Linked DNA regions of Homo sapiens: region 2 is linked to region 1. Evidence: promoter capture Hi-C in 16 types of primary human blood cells and fetal thymus (Javierre and others, 2016). All regions are on one chromosome and are shown on one strand. The core of a region is centred on a gene start or on the middle of the fragment in contact, and the rest is flanking DNA. Distances in the headings are between cores, read along the strand shown.

Evidence for each region. The method cuts DNA at HindIII sites, captures the fragments that hold promoters and counts their contacts. A CHiCAGO score of 5 or more calls a contact.
Region 2: a contact is called between a fragment that was not itself captured here and the fragment with the promoter of SF3A3 in region 1, in 1 of 17 cell types (M2 macrophages). The highest score is 5.4, in M2 macrophages.

The regions. Positions count from the first base shown.
Region 1 is chr1:37,984,790-37,991,287 of GRCh38, forward strand. It overlaps SF3A3 (splicing factor 3a subunit 3), which reads right to left and starts at 5,233. Exons shown (of 17, transcript NM_006802.4): 1 at 5,081-5,233; 2 at 4,759-4,806; 3 at 2,995-3,047; 4 at 2,784-2,889. The coding sequence starts at 5,176. RefSeq lists enhancers at 4,485-4,584, 5,285-5,454, 5,846-6,391. The HindIII fragment of the contact is 15,870 bases long and covers 1-6,498 here.
Region 2 is chr1:37,566,932-37,572,963 of GRCh38, forward strand. GNL2 (G protein nucleolar 2) reads right to left here. Exons shown (of 16, transcript NM_013285.3): 13 at 1,920-2,371; 14 at 1,344-1,426; 15 at 742-833; 16 at 1-76. Among named protein-coding and RNA genes, the nearest start is that of DNALI1, 13 kb to the left of the region's middle. RefSeq lists an enhancer at 1,284-2,483. The HindIII fragment of the contact is 695 bases long and covers 904-1,598 here.

The sequences.
Region 1 (6,498 bases), core at 3,983-6,482:
AAGTAAAAGCTCAGGTGGATTTTTCTTTTTGCTTTTGAGATGGATTCTCACTCTGTGGCCCAGGCTGGAGTGCACTGGCACAATCTTGGCTCACTGCAACCTCTACCTCCCGGGTTCAAGCGATTGTCCTGCCTCGGCCACCCGAGTAGCTGGGATTATAGGCACACACCACCACGCTTGGCTAATTCTTGTATTTTTAGTAGAGACAGGGTTTTGCCATGTTGCCCAGGCTGGTCTCAAACTCCTAAGCTCAAGTGATCTGCCCACCTTGGCCTCCCAAAGTGCTGGGATTACAGGCATGAGCCACTGTGCCTGACCGCAGGCGGATTTTTCAATGTAAAAGTTGCAAGATCACAGAAATGAAATACACAGAAAGTTGGACTTCTGATGATTTATTTGGCCTTGATTTTTCACTAGGAAATCTACTACTGTTCTCCAATTACCTTGTTTTTCCCCGCTTTTTTGTACTGTTTGAGTAAAACCCACTAAAGTAACACATGCTCACAAAAACTCAAAAGTCCACCTTTATTAATTCTCCTGAGAACAGGTGACCACTGTTAACAGAGCTTTTGCTATGCCAGTGGTTCCCAAACTTTGCTGCACATTAGAATCACCTGGGGGAGTTTTTTTTTTAAATCCTGATGCACCTGATACCAATTAAATCAAAGGAGGGCAGGTATCAGTACTTTTTAAAGATCCCCAGGTGGCTCAAATATGCACAAAGTTTGGAAAACAGTGCTCTATGTATTTAAATATATGTATTTGTACAAGTACATTCATGCCTGCATAGGTTTTTGTTTTTGTTTTTTTAACATAAAAGACTTGCGTCTGACATTTAGTATATCTTGGGCATCCTTCTAATCAGTTATTTAAGCATTTATTCCTCATTACCTTTTGACCATGGCTGGAATAAGGTTAACACATCAGAATGGTATTCATTTATTCTCCCTTGGTTAGCAGAAGACCTCATTCTCTATCCTCCAAGGGGGCTATGTGTGTGAGGGTCCCTTCATTTACCTCCGCGCTATGTATTGCAATAAACAGCCTCTATTTTTTGCTGTTTTTAGTCTCTTCCTTTTTCCCTGTGCTCCTTCAAATAAGTATGCTTCTCTGTCTTCCCCAATACCCTCCTGTTTCTCCCCTTCTTTTTCCTACCAGACTTTTTTTTTTTTTTTTTTTGACGGAGTCTTGCTCTGTTGCCCAGGCTGGAGTGCAGTGGCGTGATCTCAGCTCACTGCAACCTCCATGTCCTGGGTTCAAGCGATTCTCCTGTCTCAGCCTCATGAGAAGCTGGGATCACAGGCGTGCACCACCATGCCCGGCTAATTTTTGTGTTTTTAGTAGAGAGAGGTTTCACCATTTTGGCCAGGCTGGTCTCCAACTCCTGACCTCAGATGATCGACCCGCCTCGGCCTCCCAAAGTGCTGGGATTACAGGCGTGAGTCACTGCACCTGGCTACCAGCCTTTCAAATGCATGTTCCATACTCCATACTTCTACTTCCCCATTACCCATCTTTACCTTGTGACCAGATTTCCATTCATACTACTTTAATGAAGCAGCAATCCTGGCAGATATAAATCAATAACAGTTGACACCATGACTGCCTTTCTGAAACTCTCTTTTGCTTAACTTCAGTAAGGCAACACCACCTGGAGTGGTCATGTGACCTTTCTGATGGAAGCCTTCCCAGGCCCTTTTTCTCTTTACCTTATTATAAGTGAGCTCCAGGGCATATGAGGGCCGGGCGCGGTGGCTCATGCCTGTAATCCCAGCACTTTGGGAGGCCGAGGTGGGCGGATCACAAGGTCAGGAGATAGAGACTATCCTGGCTAACATGGTGAAACCCTGTCTCAACTAAAAAATACATAAAATTAGCCAGGCGTGGTGGCAGGCACCTGTAGTCCCAGCTACTCAGGAGGCTGAGGAAGGAGAATGGCATGAACTCGGGAGGTGGAGCTTGCAGTGAGCCGAGATCATGCCACTGCACTCCAGCCTGGGCAACAGAGCGAGACTCCATCTCAAAAAAAAAAAAAAAAAAAAAGACAGAGTTAGGAACACAATTTATTGGGGAGAGTAATTTCTGTGAAAGATAAAAAGGAAGAGAAAGTAGGATTAGGACAGGATAGCCTAGACCACAATGCAGATTGGACAAAATCTTGACCAACCCAACGGGGAGCCATGGAGCAAAGATTATTCATCAGAGGAGTCTCAGAGTGGACCAAATTGCTGGGCCCTAGTACCCATACTGTGCTCAGTCACTGGCTGGGAGCTGCCCACAAAATGTGGCCTTGACTTCTTTTTTTTGAGACAAAGTCTCACTCTTGTCCCCCAGGATGGAGTGCAATGGCGCAATCTCGGCTCACTGCAACCTCCACCTCCCAGGTTCAAGTGATTCTCTTGCCTCAGCCTCCTGAGTAGTTGGGATTACAGGCACATGCCACCATGCCTGGCTAATTTTTGTATTTTTAGTAGAGGTTGAGTTTCACTATGTTGGCCAGGCTGGTCTTGAACTCCTGACCTCAGGTGATCCACCCACCTCAGCCTCCCAAAGTGCTGGGATTACAGGCGTGAGCCACCGTGCCCAGCCGGCCTTGGCTTAAAAGCTGAGGGAGATACTGAAAACACTGTATTGTAGGATGTCAGCTAACTATGGTCCTTGCAGCTAAATGGCAAGTTCTTTCTTGAAGTGCATTTGAATAGCACATGTCCAGTTTCCTTTATACCTTTCCTTTAGTATGCTTTAAGGATAGGTCTGGAGAAAATACTTTTCTGAGGACATACCTCATTTGGGTGCTTCCGGTGGAATTCCTTTATTTGCTTGAGTCTATTATAGAATTCAGCAAACTCATTGGGTCCTGAAATGGCATTGAGCTCCTCCTTTCGTAATCTGCAATTTCAGGAAAATTTCAAAGAAGATAGAGCACAAAGTCAGTCCTCTAACCATGGCTCCTCAGAAGCACTAACTCCTGGATTAGCTGTGACTGTCACTTACCCATCCTTATCATCATACAAATCCCTCAGGTTCCCACTGACCTCCATATACCTCTGAAAGGCAAATACAAAACCATCAGAATGATGCAATTTGCACAACTGTAGAGCTAAGCAAACAACAAGGGTTCTCCAGTCAAAGCCCAGGGCAACCTCAAGAGACATGGATATGAGATAGTCTTAACAGTTCTGTGCTTCCTAGTACCTTTAACAGCCCTGATTCCTGGTTAGTTTTTTAATAGCCCTTTAACAGCCTTGATTCCTGTTTAGTTTTTTAAGCAGGTCGATTGGAAGATTACCTAAATGATACATTTAAGGGGTGGCTCCTATCTTTACATACCACCGATGCCTAACTTCCCCTGTAACAGACTCACCCTCTTTGGCCAAACACTAGTTCCCACCTAACATCCTCAAAGATAAAGATGATATTCACTATTTCAAAACGCTTGACTGAGGAGTAGGCAGGCTAAATAAACATTACATAGGCTTCCTTTGTAGTCAAAGTATACTAATTCAGGATGGTACAGGTACATAGTCCCTCCTCCAAAACTTTTGGGACCAGATTTGTTTCAGAATTTGGAATGTTTAAGTTCAAAAGAGGTATCATATATTATGTAACATCCCTAGTGGAATCTGGAGCACACAGTTCTGCAGTAAACCTCATACCTTATTTACCAAGTGGGATAAATTAAAGACCATAAAAAGCCTATCACAGGTTCGGGCCAGGTTTTACTGTCAAGTGAGATCAGGTCAGATTTTGACACCAAATAATCACCCAAGGGGAAAAAAAGAAAATCCTTGGTTTTCAGAGTATTTTGGGGCTGAGGGCTTGTAATCTGATAATCTCCTGCAAATCAGAAGGTCCAAGTAGGTCTTTTATTCCTTTTTAAACAGGTTTCAAACATACACAAGAGTAAGGAACGTAGTAAAATGAACCTCCATTTATTCATCACCCAGTTTAAATAGCATCTTGTTTTTCTTTTAATAAACTGAACTATTACCAGACAAATGCAGTTTAGTAGTCCAAAACGCTTTAAAGTAGTATCCTGGGAGAAAAACACTAACATACGGGGTGTGTTGTGTGTGTGTGTGTGTGTGTGTATATATATATATATATTTTTTTTTTCATTTAAGGGAAGGATTGTAGCTATGCACCTGAGTCATGGACTCTTCATAACTATTGTTTGCACATCCAAGGGATACAGGATGCTGTAAGAATGGGCACGTGTAAGCCGGCCGCGGTGGCTCAAGCCTGTAATCTCAGCACTTTGGGAGGCCGAGGTAGGTGGATCACGAGGTCAGGAGTTCGAGACCAGCCTGACCAACATGTTTAGTAGAAACTCCGTCTCTACTAAAAATACAAAAATTAGCTGAGCGTGGTGGCGAGCGCCTGTAGTCCCAACTACTCCGGAGGCTGAGGCAGGAGAATCGCTTGAACCCAGGAGGCGGAGGTTGCAGTGAGCCGAGACCGCGCCACTGCACTCCAGCCTAGGCAACAGAGCGAGACTCCGTCCAAAAGAAGAAGAAGAAGAAAAAAAAAAAGGGCACCTTTCTGATTAATGAAGAATGCCCAAGAGTTCCCCATTCAGAGAACTGAGGAAGCACCCTCACGTTCGGCAGCCTGTGGACATCTGTCCAGGCAGAGAGCCCGCGACTGGCCAATCCGGTTACCTTTGGCCAGGGACTCATGCTGAGACACCGCACTTCACTTCCCCTCTCTTTTCCCGCCCTCGCCAACCCAAAGAGAGGCAGACAGCTGGGCACTCACATCTTGCATGGCCCGAGTGCGGTGATCAGAATTGATCTGGTCCCGGAGCTGAAAAAACAAACGGTGACACAAACGCCGTTAGTTTGCGTTCTGGAGTAGAAAAGGCCGCCCGAGGGCGGAGCTTACCCGCTCAGCTTTTACCAGCTGAGGCAGAAAGGCCTCTGGGGCTCCGGACCCCGGGAGGAGGTTACCAAGACCGGAGCTCGGAGAGGGAGCCCGGAGGAAGGCAGGGAGGTTCTGAGGGCCAAAGCAAGCTCTCAGAGGTCAAACACGGGATAGAGGCTCGTGCTCCTGCCGCAGCCTCTGCTCAGGCCCCACTCACCGTGGACTTCTTGGTGAGCATCTCTTTAGCCATGACGTCCATGAGCCGTTCCTTCTCCTCATGATAGCGCCGCTGCTGCTCCAGTATTGTCTCCATCTTCCCTTAGTCGCGGCTTCTCAATTCAGACCACCAACACGGCCGGAAGCAACTCCTGCCGCCCAGCGCGCCTGAGTCCCCACGTTGCGCATCAGGCTGCACCAAAGTTCCGCGAGTGCCGGAAGTGCCCCGGGACTTAAGAAAACAGGAGCACCACAAGGAAGGCCAGTCCATGTTATGGAGATGGCAACAGTGCCACCTGCTGGTGGGAGGTGTGGTGGAGCGATGCCGAGAGGTTCGCAGATGCCTCCAGGGGGCATAGGAAAACCCAAGAACCTGAGGTTCAGCGGACGGCTTCCTGCGGCTTGCTGGGGCCGGCTTGGCGGGCAGGTATCCTGTGTGGACTGCGCGAGCAGTTGGAGTGCGGATGGGAGTTGGGAAACCGGAACTTGAGGACGCAGCTTTCAGCATAAATTATGAGAACGTTTTCTCTTTCTCTGGACCTCAGCGTCTTTCTCAGGAAAATGGGAATAGTGGGGTTTTGCTGGTGGTGTTTTTAAAAAAATTCACATGTGAGGCCGGGCGCGGTAGCTCACGCCTGTAATCCCAACACTTTGGGAGGCCGAGGCGGGCGGATCACTTGAGGTCAGAGGTTCGAGACGACCAGGCTGGCTAACATGGTGAAACCCCGTCTCTACTAAAAACAAACAAACAAAAATTAGCCGGGCGTGATGGCAGGCGCCTGTAGTCCCAGCTACTCCGGAGGCTGAGGCAGGAGAATCGCTTGAACCCGGGAAGCAGAGGTTGCCGTCAGCTGAGATCGTGCCACTGCACTCCAGCCTGGGCGACAGAATGAGACTCAGTCTCAAAAAAAAAAAAAAAAAAGAAATTCACGTGTAGAAACGACTTGTCTATCGGCAGCGAATATGTTAAATAAAATACTGTGCATCCAACGAGATCAGGAGATTGAGACCATCCTGTCTAACACGGTGAAACCCCGTCTCTACTAAAACTGCAAAAAATTAGCCGGGCATGGTGGCGCGCGCCTGTAGTCACAGCTACTCGGGAGGCTGAGGCAGGAGAATCACTTGAACCCAGGAGGCAGAGGTTGCAGTGAGCTGAGATCATGCCACTGCATTCCAGCTTGGGCGACAGAGAGAGACTCCGTCTCAAAAAAAAGTAAAATAAAATAAAATAAAATACTGTGCATCCAAGCAGTGGAAGACCAGCTGTGAAATGACATACAGCCTTAAAAAAAATTCTGTCTATATATCTCCACTTGTAGGTAGAGAAATGCAAACATGTCCATGTGTTCATATGTTCACAGCGGCATTATTCATAATAGACAAAAACTGGATGCAGCCCAAGAGTCCATTAACTGG
Region 2 (6,032 bases), core at 1-2,500, 420 kb before region 1:
TATTTTTCACGTTGTGTGTTTCATAGTAGCGCACACCAACTTTTTTCGGCCGTTGCTGTCGTACTGCTCGCCTCCGCTGTAAAAAATGGCAAGAAAAGATGAAGAAAAAAAACAACAAAACCCTGAAAGTCATTCACAAAACAGGAGTCTCTGCTTCTCATCTCTGTGTTCTATTTCCCGTGCTGCTTCCACAGCTACTGGAAGCAGTGCTAATGAGGGAGGGCTCCCCCGTAGACCTAAGGTTACTCTTCCATTGTGACTTATGCAACTCCAAGTTACAAATCCACATGTGATCCAACCCTTAGCCAGTGCAAGAATCTGTTCTGCATCACTCCTGACAAGTCCCCTGCAGCAAGGCTGAGTGCTGCTAACCACTCCCCTCCCCAGAGGGCCCACTCTAGCTCTGAACAGCTCAGCTCCAAAGCTGTCCTTCACAGAAGTCAGTGATCTGCCCAAAGCAGATCTGCTCATTGGGTCGTTTCCCTTGGGACTAGAAACTGACTCCTCTAGAGGATAGTCCACTCGTGTGGAGACGTTGATTAGAAACTCCTAAAACGTATGACATGGACTCAAGGACCTGCATCTAGTGGGCCAGACCCGACCCTATTTATCTGACCTCAACTAGGTCAACGAGGACTGGGGTTCTTGGGATTCAGCTCTGGACCATTTGTTTCAGTGGGTCTTGACAACTGGAGTTCTAGTTACTCTACTTGGGCCATACTTAAAACCTATGACACTTACTTCTTTTGATGTAAGCGCCCTGGGAGCTTTATTTGAATGTTCCTGTTCCTCTTCCCTTTGTGCCTTCCGCTTCTTTCCCTTTTTGGAAGGTGCTGGATACAAACAATACACAAACAGGAATTTTCTATTGAAAATTTGTCTATAAACCCAACGGTGGGAACAAGCTTGATGTATCAGGAGGAGGACACCCAATGTGGACAGAGCAGGTGAGCACAGTGGTGAGTAAAGCAGGCCAAGGGGAGGCTGCCAGGTAAAAGGATGCCCTAAGCCATGCTCTCAGTGTGAAAGCTGATGGTCAAATGGAGGAATGGATAAATGCAGGAAACACACCCCCCTCTTTGTCTGTGGACCCACCCTTGGATTCTAGGTTAATAATGAACCCTTTCTAGGAAGTTTCCTGAATTGCCAATTTAATCCTAAAAAATGTGCAGAATGAAAAGCAGATAATTCAATTTGCATAACACTATGTAAATTTAAAGTAATCTGCCAGATATGACAAACATTTATGTGGATGACTGAGATAATTTGGAGACTGAACTTAGGTTTCTCAAAACTCTAAATATGCAAATTACATCTAAATGATTGAAATAATTTAACTTCACCTCTGTCATCTACATCTTCTTCCAGTGTTTTTCTTTGTTCTTCAGGTTTTGCAAATATCTTTTCACTCAGTCCCTTGGATATTCTGAAACAGAAAAGCAAAGTAACATTCCTCCTCTCACTCGCCCGAATCACATACTGACCTGGAGACCTGCGACAAACTCACAGACTAAAGAAACCCCACTCCTATCCAAGTAGTTATCACCAGTGGAAGAAGTCAACATCCAACATGTTTGTACCTCCCTGGGTGTTTCTAAAGCTTCTCATACTGCAGGCAGCTGAATTTTACAAAATTTACAGTTCACTTTTTAAAAATGGCAATAACAGCCAAGTGTGGTGGTGCACACCTGTAGTCACAGCTACTTAGGAGGCTGAGATGACAGCATTGCTTGAACCCAGGAGAGTGAGGCCAGTCTAGGCAACATAGCGAGACGCCGTCTCAAAAAACAAACAAACAAAAAACCCAACCGAACAAACAAATGGCAATAACCCCATGTAAAAATATGGCTCTGGTACTCATGGCAAATTTTTGGGAAAGGAATGAAAATCTGCAATTTGTGAGAAGATGAAAATATTACCTGACTGCTGAAAACTTTTTGGCTTTGGCTTTGTCTAGAAACTTCTGATATTTGGCAATCTTCTCATCCAGTGCTTTAATAACGGCTTTGGTGTCGTTTCCCACATTTTCCTCCTCAGGCTCCGAGGAAGACTCTTCCGCATCATCTCTTTGTTGCTCCTGTTCCTCCTCCTCTTCATCAGAAAAGCTCTCAAGCTCTTCCTCAAGATCTGACACCTCCACAGGAACCAGGTCATCCCCAGAAAACTGAGGCACCACGTTGATTTTACCAAAGTTCTGCCGAACTCGTGTGAGAATCTGCTGCATCTCTGTGTTAGCATCACAGTGACTGTTCTCTTCTGTTTCTTCCTTAATGATGGATTCTGACCCTTCACCTGCAGTTTCTGTGACTTCCTCCCCTGGATTGTTCTGGGCTGCTTCTGGGACAACTTCCAAAGATGAGGAGGGTAGAAGCTATTAAGGGGTGGAAATGGGGGAAATAAATAGAATCAGAAAATGAAAAATGGAATTTCTGAACTCATATCTTGCTCTTAAACAGTCCTCTTCTCAGGACTAAGGGAAGGTATTGAAAACACCCAAATTTGAGTCATTTCATTAATGTATTTTTAAACCAATGTACATTAAGCCCAGAGATCAGTACTAGGATCAAAGGAATACATGTGTAGTTCCACAGGATGAACCAACTAAGACTATTTAAACCATTAAAACCAACCAATGATTTATCATAGAAAAGCAAGGCTCCCTAGACCTTCCCTAGGGGGCTGCTGATATAAGCACATGCAAAATCAGCACACACAACTACATAAAAATGAAGGCCAGGCTGGATGTTACAGATGAGAACAGTACTAAGAGAGGCATTTGAGGAGGTCCTCTGATTTAAATGTGTCCCCCAAAATTCATATGTTGGAAACTGGTATGGTTTGGCTGTGTCCAAATCTCATCTTGATTTGTAGCTCCCATAATCCCCATGTGTTGTGGGAAGGACCGGGTGGGAGGTAATTGAATTATGGGGGCAGGTCTTTCCCATGCCGCTCCTATGATGAATTAAGTCTCACGAGAGCTGATGGTTTTATAAAGGGCAGTTTCCCTGGACACACACTCTTGCCTGATGCCATGTAAGACATGCCTTTGTTCCTCCTTCACCTTCCGCCATGATTGTGAAACCTCCCCAGCCATGTGGAACTGTGAGTCCATTAAACCTCTTTTTCTTTATAAACTAACCAGTCTCATGTATTTCTTCATAGCAGTATGAAAATGGACTGATACAGAAACTTAATCCCCAATGCAGCAAGTGTTGGTAGGTAAGGCCTAATAAGAGGTAATTAGATCATGAGGGCTCCATCCCCATGAATGGACTAATGGATCTCGGGGATGGGTTCGTTTTTAAGAGTGAGTCTGTTGGCCGGATGTGGTGGCTCACGTCTGTAATCCCAGCACTTTGGGAGGCCAAGGTGGGCAGATCACAAGGTCAGGAGTTCAAGACCAGCTTGGCCAACATGGTGAAACCCCATCTCTACTAAAAATACAAAAATTAGCTGGGCCTGGTGGCATATGCCTGTAGTCCCAGCTACTCAGGAGGCTGAGGCAGGAGAATCACTTGAACCCAGGAAGCAGAGGTTGCAATGAGCCGAGATCGTGCCACTGCACTCCAGCCTGGGCAACAGAGCAAGACTCCGTCTCAAAAAAAAAAAAAAAAAGAGTGAGTTTGTTATAAAAGCAAGTTTGACCCTCTCTTGCTTGCTCTTGTCCTCCCACTTTCCACGATGGGATGACCCTTGTCAGATGCTGGTGCCTTGATACTGGACTTCCCAGCCTCCAGAAACATGAGCCAAAACAATTTCTGTTCATTATAATTACCCAATCTGTAGTATTCTGTTGCATCATCACAAAACAGACTAAGATAGGAGGCATCCTGAAGCAAGAGTATAAGGTAAGGAGGGGGAATTCTGTGATTGAAGAGAGTTCATTAGAGAACTAAGTCTGGGGACCCTGAAATGACTGGCCTGTTTTAGGTAACCGCAAAGATAAGTATGTGCCAAGCTTTCTACTGGTGTTTCACATGTATAATATCATTTTATCCTTGCAACAAAAACTCAGAGAACTTAAAAGTGATGTTCTAAAGTCAAGAGTGGCCGGGCAAATCACTAAATAAGTACAGAACTATAAAATTCAGGAAACCACACACAAAATTTATACATACATTTTTCTAGGAAGGGCAATTTTTGGCTTTCAGTTTCTGAAGGGGTTTCTGCTCTTAACCAAAAAAGAAAAACAGAATCACAGAGTAAGGCATATGAGAGTGAAACTGCCTCCAAAGGGTTGACAAGAAGTATCTGCCAAGTTCTGGACAGAAATACAATTATAATTAAGCACTAATTAGGGGGCACTTTGGCCCATATCCTTGTTGCTAAAAGTTCCTGAACACTAGGTACTGACCATTTGCATCCCCACTGTCCCTATAGATAGGATTTCTGACATTTGGGTCATAAGACTATGTAAGAATTGATATGCACCCCCATTGTTCCTATAGGCAAGATCTCTGACATTAGAATCATAAGGTTTTTGTTTAAGGATTGCTTAAAATGTCTTTTCAGATCCCTAATTCCAGCAACCAGTTTGAAGATCCCCAGAGAAACGGGATCTGCATGAGAACACAGCTTCTTCATCTCCCTGTCCGTGACTTCACCCTGCACTCTTCACCCAACCAATGACCCTCACTCCAGCCCACTCCAAAACCCTTAAAACCCTAACCCCAAACTCCTCGTGGAAATGATTTCAGGATTCCTCCCATCTCCTCCTTTGGTGACCCTACGGTTAAACTTCTTTCTCTGCTGCAACCTGGTGGTGTCTCAGCATATTGACTTGCTGTGTGCATTGGGCAACAAATCTATTATGGTTACAATAGTTCTTAAGAATTATCTGAACTACTTATCTACACTTACTGACTACATACGGAGGAAGGGCTGAAGACAATGCCAGTGTTTCCACACAGGGTCCCAAGACAGCAGTGATACGGACATCCAGAATGACCCTAGAATCCAGCTGCTAACTCAAAACCTCCAATGGCTTCCCACCATGACACCCTCTCCTGGCCCACGACATTCCAGCCACAGTGACCTCCTTTCAGCATCAGGACACACAGAGCATACTCCTGCCCCAGCTGCTCTGGATGTGCTGTTCCCCTTGCCTGGAACATTCTCCCTAGATACTAGCATGGCTCCTGTCTCATATTAAGGGCTCTGCTGAAGTGCCACTGCCTCAGAGGCCTTCCCCGACCACCCCAAAGTACTCCTCATCTCCCCCAAACCCCTTAGCCTGGTTTAGTTTTCCTCACAGCACGCAAGACTTCCTGACATTATATGTTTATCTGCCTACTGTCTCCCTGTGATATAAATGTCACACTTCCTGGCACAGAGCTCCTAAGACCCTTGGAATTTCCCAAGCGATGGGTATCTTTTTTATTGATTACAAGCCCCTTTCCACCACACCTGAGTTTATGCTAATGTGGTGACTCATGGTAGACCCCTAGATAGCTTCAGGATGGGGGATGCGCTGGTCACCAGAAAGACAAAGCACTTGACCACATGGTTGGTGCTTTCAGCCACTCAGAGGAGAGAAGGGAGACCAGAAATTGAGTCTATCACCAACTGCCACAGATTTCATCAGTCATGTCTATGTAATGAAACCTCCATAAAAACCCCTACATGATGGGGTTTGGAAAGCTCTGGGTTGCTGAACACATCAATGTGTGGAGAGGGCATGGAAGCTCTGTGCCTCTCCCCCATACCTTACCCTGTGCACCTCTTCCACTGGCTGTGACTGAGTTTCATCCTTTATCATAAACCGTTAATTGTAAACACAGCACTTTCCTGGGTTCTGGGAGTCCTTCTGGCAAATTATCAAACCCCAGAACCCCTGAATTTGTAGTTAGCCGGGCGTAAGTGTGGATAGCCTGAAGCTGCCATCTGAAGCAGGGGACCTAGTCCTTAACTTGTGGGGTCTGTGCTAACTCCGGGAGTTAGTGTCACAACTGAATTAAATTGTTGGGACACTCAGCTGGTATCTGAGAACTGCAGAACTGATATGGAAAAAAATTATGTATTTGGTGTCAGAA